2 separate regions of the Homo sapiens genome follow, and region 2 is linked to region 1. Evidence: promoter capture Hi-C in 16 types of primary human blood cells and fetal thymus (Javierre and others, 2016). All regions are on one chromosome and are shown on one strand. The core of a region is centred on a gene start or on the middle of the fragment in contact, and the rest is flanking DNA. Distances in the headings are between cores, read along the strand shown. Region 1 holds the start of OPRD1 (opioid receptor delta 1). Region 2 overlaps PHACTR4 (phosphatase and actin regulator 4).

Evidence for each region. Contacts are between HindIII fragments. The CHiCAGO score rates a contact against its expected background, and 5 or more counts as called.
Region 2: a fragment that was not itself captured here is called in contact with the fragment with the promoter of OPRD1 in region 1 in 6 of 17 cell types (activated CD4 T cells, naive CD4 T cells, naive CD8 T cells and 3 more); the score reaches 7.2 in activated CD4 T cells.

Annotation. Positions count from the first base shown.
Region 1 is chr1:28,809,844-28,813,422 of GRCh38, reverse strand. It overlaps OPRD1 (opioid receptor delta 1), which reads right to left and starts at 1,253. Exons shown (of 3, transcript NM_000911.4): 1 at 813-1,253. The coding sequence starts at 1,039. The HindIII fragment of the contact is 20,164 bases long and covers 1-3,579 here.
Region 2 is chr1:28,411,083-28,414,583 of GRCh38, reverse strand. All of the region lies in intron 2 of PHACTR4 (phosphatase and actin regulator 4), which reads right to left. Among named protein-coding and RNA genes, the nearest start is that of PHACTR4, 43 kb to the right of the region's middle. The HindIII fragment of the contact is 1,580 bases long and covers 738-2,317 here.

The DNA of each region.
Region 1 (3,579 bases), core at 4-2,503:
AAATGGGAGAGGGCATTTGTGAGGAGGGCGTGAGTCTTCTCTGAATCCTATTCAGAATTCCTGACCAGATGGGCACTGGCGAAGGGAACAGAGAACCGGTTGGCGGCCCACAGCTGTCGCCCATGTTATCCAGGAATCACTGGCAAAGGCACACACAGCTGCACAAACACAGGGACGACGGCCACTCCGGATGCTCTGCCGCCCTCGGGGTTTCAAGAGCTTGACAAGAAACAACAGTCACATTGTTACATTCAGACAGAATCACAAACTGACCGTTAGGGACAAGCTCACACCAACAGATGAGCACCAAATATGACTTGGTAAGGGCCCCACGGCGAGGTGCTGACACCCAGCACCCTCCTGTCCGCCCTGCCTGCACGGTGCCCTCACACCGGTCTCCCCAAAGGCCCGCGGCACCTCAGAGCAGCTCTGCCCACCCCATGGGCATGTTTCCGACGTCCAAACATACAGTTGTACTGTCACAACCATCCACTCACAAACTGTGACAGACACACAAACTGACGCCAAACTGTCCCACAAAGAAGCAAGGGGATGCCAACAGATGATCAAATGTAATTTAGTCAACCGCGGCGCACTCCCCCCCCCGCACCACACACACACATACACACGATGACACACATTCCTGTGTTCCCCTCGATGTAAGTGGCCTCGCCTCTCGCTGGGCCCCAGGTGCCCCTGCAGGAAATGCGGAGGCGCGGGGAGTCCAGGGAACGGGCTTGGGGTCTCAAGTTCGTGATCCCCACCCTCACCCCGGGCTCCAGCCCTGCGGCGCCGGCCCGCAGCGGACTCACCGGACGATGCCGAACATGACAAGCACGTTGCCCAGCAGCCCCACGGCGCACACGGCCGAGTAGAGCGCGGTGATGGCGATTGCCAGGGCGAGGGACGAGGCGCTCCGCGCGCCTGGCGGCCCCGACGCATTGGCGCCAGCGCTGGGGCAGGCGCTAGGGTAGGCGTCCGAGGCGTTGGCGAAGAGCGGGGGCTGCAGCTCGGCGCCGGCGGAGGGGGCCGGTTCCATGGCTGCCGGCCGGCTCCGCCGCGTCCCTCTCCACCGTGCGCCCTGGGCGCGGGGATCCGACGCGAGGGGAGCGGCAAGGCAGAGGCCGCGGCCCCGACGCCGCCGGCTGCCGCGCCCCGGCCGCCCCGCTGTCTCTGCGCCTCGTCCGCCTGCCTCGCCGCCCGCACCGGCCCAGCCCCCGGCGTCCGCCCGCTCTCCTCGCCCGGAGCGCTGTGAGCCAGGAGCAGCCGCAGGCTCCTCGGACGCGCCCGCCGCGCGCACCACGTGGCCCGGAGGCGGCCGCCAGTCTGCGCCCGCGACCGGGGGCGGACGCTGCACCACCGGCTCGGAGCTGGGCAGGGGAGGCCTCCCGCCCCCTCCCTAGGGATGCTCCGCCGGCTCGAGTGCGACCCCGTCCCAACCTGGACTCCCCTCCCACCCCCTTGCCACTTTGGTGTCAGAGGGACCTGGGTGTGGATCCCGCCTCCCGCCCCTGCACTAACAGGCGGAGTGACCTTGTGTAAGTCACTTAACCTCCCTCAGCTTCATTCTCTTTGTCTGTGAGATGAGGAAAATCGTACCACCTCCCTCAGAGGGTGGTTGGGGAGATTGAATAAAATGATTCGAACAAAGAGCTTAGAGCAGTGCCCTGCGGACAGTTACATGCTCCGTAAATAACCTATATTATCCGTGCCTTTCTTGCACCCCATTCATTCGCTCAACAAAAATTCTGAGGGTGCCTAATAGAAGAGCCGGGTATTTGGGGGGACCCTCTAGTACACAAAACCAGATGCAGCCTCTGCTTCCTGGGGCTTACAGCCCAGTGCAGGAGAGAGAGCGAGCAACCCTAAAATGACATTAAGATATAGGTACGAATTGAGAAAGTGGCAGGGTCTACAAAACCCAGGGGTCAGGACAGCTTCCCTGGGGAAACGACACTTGAGGTGAGGTGTGAAGTTTGGGGAAGAACTAACTTAAGGAAGTAACAAGGGAAGAGGATTCCGGATAAAGGAAGCAGAGGGACTGAAAGGAAGCCAGGAAGAGGAGAAGGCAGGAAGTGAGGGGGCGATGAGGTGGTGGGCAGGCTCTTGAAGACCACCTTAAGGAGCACTCTGGCTGCAGTGCGAGCAGATAGAAGGGGGGCACTTGGCTAAGTCATCCTTGCCACACCCCTTCCAAGACCTAACCATTCCAGATTAGAGCCATCCTTCTTCTTGGGGTGCCTAGCCTTTCCAGAACATTCTACCAAGCATTACTTTGCTCCAGGCACTGTGATAAGCACTTTATCCATGCACCAACACTTTGGTGTAGCTTCTATTATTATTGTCCCCATGTTACAGATTTAGTGCTCAGCACTAAATTATCCCATATAGTAATTATTTCTATCCGAACTGGTCTCCCTCCTTAAAGGGACCAGGTCTGATTGACCCCTGCATCCAGGAGAGGGCTGGGGTCACAGCAGGTGCTCAAGAAATACTTTTTGGATAATAAAGATCCCAAAGGGAACTGGAGTGGAACAATATTAGGGGTTCTGAGCTCTAGGCTCTGGGGCAATGCTCTTGGATCTGTGTGTGGCTGGACAAGGAGCTCTCCCTCATCTCACCCTCTAGCTTGAATCATCCATATATGTGCAAGGCTCCTACCCTTTCCCAGAAAAAAGCAAAGCCAGAATTCCCAAGCTCACCCTCTTCTCCATTTTCTCCACCCCACTTAGCTGCTGTCCAGCCACTTCTACCAACTACAGCAAGCCCCCCACCCCAGGGCTTTCCCACTCAACCACCTAAGGACTTATCAGAAAGATTTTTGCTGTGGTCACCTGCTGCCAAAACTCTCTCCCTTTCCCAAAGGGCCTGGTACTCAGAAACTTTTCTAGTGCCAGCAGAGAGAAATTGGGATAGGAAGAAGGAGGGCTACTTTATTGGAATTCTGGTCCCCTCCCTAACCCTCCAAGCCAAGTTTTTTCCTACCTCAGGACATTTGTACATGCTATTCCTTCCACTCGGAAGGCTGGGCCAATACCCCAGCCTAAGCGTTATTTACCCCTCAAATTTCAGCTTAAATATCACTTCCTTTGTGAAACCTTCCCTGATCCCCACCCCACCTCCAACTAGCCCAGCTCTCCTTATTATGCAGTAGCATCACGTACTTCTTCTTTACATATTAATAGTTTCCCATGTATTTATTGTGTAATCATTGGATTTTTTGTGCATCACCTTCACACAAAAAAGTATTGTGTAAAACTAACCATTGAATACTATGCTCAGTAACTTAGTTGACAGGATAATTCATACCCCAAACCTCAGCATCACAAAATATACCCAGGTGGCAAATCTGCACATGGATCCCTTGGATCTACAAGAAAAATTGAAAAAGGCTGGGCACGGTGGCACACACTTGTAATCCGAACATTTTGAGAGGCTGAGGCAGACAGATCACTTGAGCCTAGGAGTTCGAAACCAGCGTGGGCAACATGGCAAAACCCTGTCTCTACAAAAAAAAAAAAAAAAAAAAAAAAAAAATTAGCCAGGAATGGTAATGTGTGTCTCTAGTTGCAGCTACTT
Region 2 (3,501 bases), core at 278-2,777, 400 kb after region 1:
CAACATAGGGAGACTGCATCTTTACAAAAAGTAAAAAAATTAGTCAGGCATGGTGGTATGTGCCTATAGTCCCAGCTACTTGGGAGGCAGAGGTGGGAGAATTGTTTGAGCTCAGGAGGTCGAGGCTGCGGTGCTTTTTTTTTTTTTTTTTTTTTTGAGACAGAGGAAGACTGACCCCAAAAAATAAAAATAAAAAAATAAAATGAAAAAGAAAATAAGGCCAGCTGCAGAGGCTCATGCCTGTAATCTCAGCACTTTGGTAGGCCGAGGCAGGCGGATCACCTGAGGTCAGGAGTTCGAGACCAGCCTAGCCAACATGGTGAAACCCTAAAACTACAAAAATTAGCCAGGCAGTGATGGGTGCTTGTAATCCCAGTTACTCGGGAGGCTGAGGCCAGGAGAATCATTTGAACCCAGGAGGCAGAGGTTGCAGTAAGCTGAGATGGCGCCACTGCACTCTAGCCTGGGTGACAGAGCAAGACTCCATCTCAAAAGATAAAAATAAAGTAAAATAAAATACAAATACAAGTAAAATTAAAAATGGAAGAGAATTAAGTGAAAATATGCATAATTAATGCTGAATGCAGCAGTCTCTTCAGTCAGTTTTCTTCACCCCTTACCATCCAAACACAGTGGGAAGACTGTGCCCCTTAGACCCTGATACTGATATGAGAATGTTCATCAACAATAAGGCCAAGAAGCTCACCCAAAGGCAACCTGCCTATACATTTAAAGCTTCTAACTGGCTATTTAGTCCCTCACTTTTAACCATCAGCAGACAGTTAATTATTACTAGACATCAGAGAAAAACTCTAACATAAAAGAAACCAAATCAATATTTAAAAACAATGTTAGGAAAAAAAGAGACTATGCAGGGCAAGGAAAATCTGTTGAAAGAATGAAAGGATAGTATAAAAAGAAACATGCAGAGACTTCAAAAAGACCTCCTGGAGATTAAACTCTAATAGTAGAAAAGAAAAATTTAATAAAAGTAGAAGATAAAGTTGAATAAATCTTGCAGGAAACATATCTAAAGGAAAAAGAAATGAATTAGATAATTATTCCAGGAGGTTCAACATCAAAAAGCTACTGGCAACCAAGACAGAGGAAGACATGAGGGTTTAGGAAACAAAGGAGCTAACACAGGAAAGAAGCAAAGCTGTCAGGAAAATGGAGACTGGATAACCCAGGATGACAGTTGCGTACCACCTCTACAGACTGCAAGGCCACCTGTACACAGACTGGAGCAATGTGACTCAAGAGATATATTGAAAGCTGTCATCACCAATATCTCTGCTGCTATTTATCCTTTTTAAAGCTAAGAACACAGTACCCAGGTGAGCCTGGCCCTCAGCCTGTCTTGACTAAATGCTTATGGATTTCTTCTTTGAACATACTTGATTGCCTAATGAGTTCCAGACTCATTTCGCTCCACAAAAGTTTCTTTAACCCAGCGGTCCCCAACCTTTTTGGCACCAGGGACCAGGTTCATGGAAGACAATTTTTCTACAGACGGGGGTGTTGGGGTGGTTTGGGATGAAACTGTTCCACCTAATCACTGATCTGACAGGAGGTGGAGCTCAGACTGTAATGCTCACTGGCCCACTGCTCACCTCCTGTGGCCCGGGGGTAGTGGTGCAGGGTACTCCTGCTTAGGAGAAACCACAGAGCTAATCACTCCCTCTGACCATATTTCTGTCAAATGTCCAAGACCTAGTCCACACTGAAACCCTGCCCAATACAATCTCCAGGATTAAATCTTAACTTTACTCATGACTTCCATAGAAGGGCCTCTAGGAACCTCAGGAAAATGAAGCAAGTATAATCTGCTGATCTCTGGGGATCCCTGAGATCCTTTCAGAAGTCCAAGAGGTAAAACTAAATACATAAGAATACAAAAAAATTATTTGCCTTTTCCACTGTGTTGACACTTGCACTGATGGTACAAAAGCAATGGTGAGCAAAACTGTTAGCACCTTAACACAAATCAAGGCAACAGCACCAAACTGTAGCAGAAATCATTGTATTCTTCACAACTACACAGTTACAGTGAAAAATAAATTCAACTTTAAGAATGTCCTTGATAAAGCAATAAAAAATATTAGTTTTAATAAATATCAACCCTTTAGTACATATATTTTTATTACTGTTTATGATGAAACAGAAATATGTATAAAGCACATTTGTATACTAAGTATGATGGTTATCTCCAGGAAAGGCATTTGTGTGACTGAGTTGCAAACTGAACTAGACAGTTTTCTTCATGGAATACTATTTTTACTTGAAAGACTGAACAACAAGCTATGTTATTCAAGCTTAGATAGCTGACAGGCATTTTCTCAAAAGTAAGCCTGTCACTAATAAAGAAAATTAACAGTATTTGTTGCTAGTGATAGAATTCAAGCTTTCAAGTGAAATTCCTATTTTGGAAAATTTACATCCAGAATGAGCTTGACAGCTTCCCAACATTTAACATTTTTTTCAACGAGACCAATAGTGATATTAACGAACATGATATTTAAATATTATATAATGAAATGTGTAAGCATCTGTCCAGGTAGAAAAGGTCCTAGAGACCTTAGGTCTATCCTTCTGGTACTTTATTCGTAAAAATCCCTCACTACTTTTATTTCCAGAATACCACAAATAATTCTTTCTTTCTTTCTCTTTCTTTCTTTCTTTTGTTCATTCGTTCTTTCTTTCTTTTGTTCATTCGTTCTTTCTTTCTTTCTTTTGGGTGGTTTCTGTTTTCTTTTTTTCCTTTTTTATGTCATTTTTTACTTCAATAGGTTTTGGGGAATGGGTAGTATTTGGTTACATGAATACGTTCTTTAGTGGTGATTTCTAAGATTCTGGTGCAACCATCATCCAAGCCGTGTACACTGTACCCAATGTGTAGTCTTTTATCTCTTTTTCAATATTTCTACTTAATTATTAGCTAACTTGATTATAACAAAATTCTCACTCCACCAAAAGAAACAAACTCATTTTACATCCTCAATTCTTTTCTTTGTCAAATGACACTGAGTACACCAAATTCTTATCATATGTATATGTGTGTATATGTATAGTAAACAACTAAGAAAAAAATCATTATAACATTTAGAAGGAAAAATGGAGACAGAGGAGAATGGTAGTTAAATATGAGTCATTTCTGTTTTCCTATAAACTCCATATTATGATTGAATGAATGTTAATTTACAAATTCCAAGATTTAAATAAGTGTTTAGAAAAAAATAATCTCAGGCCGGGCTCACACCTGTAATCCAAACACTTTCGGAGGCCGAGGCAGGTGGATCATCTGAGGTCAGGAGTTCAAGACCAGCCTGGCCAATATGGCGAAATCCCGTCTCTATTAAAAATACAAAAATTAGTTGGGTGTGGTGGCAGGTGCCTGTAGTCCCAGCTACTTGGGAGGCTGAGGCAGGAGAATTGCTTGAACCCAGGAGGCGGAGGTTGCAGTGAGCCGAGATCACACCATTGTACTCCAGCCTGGGTGAC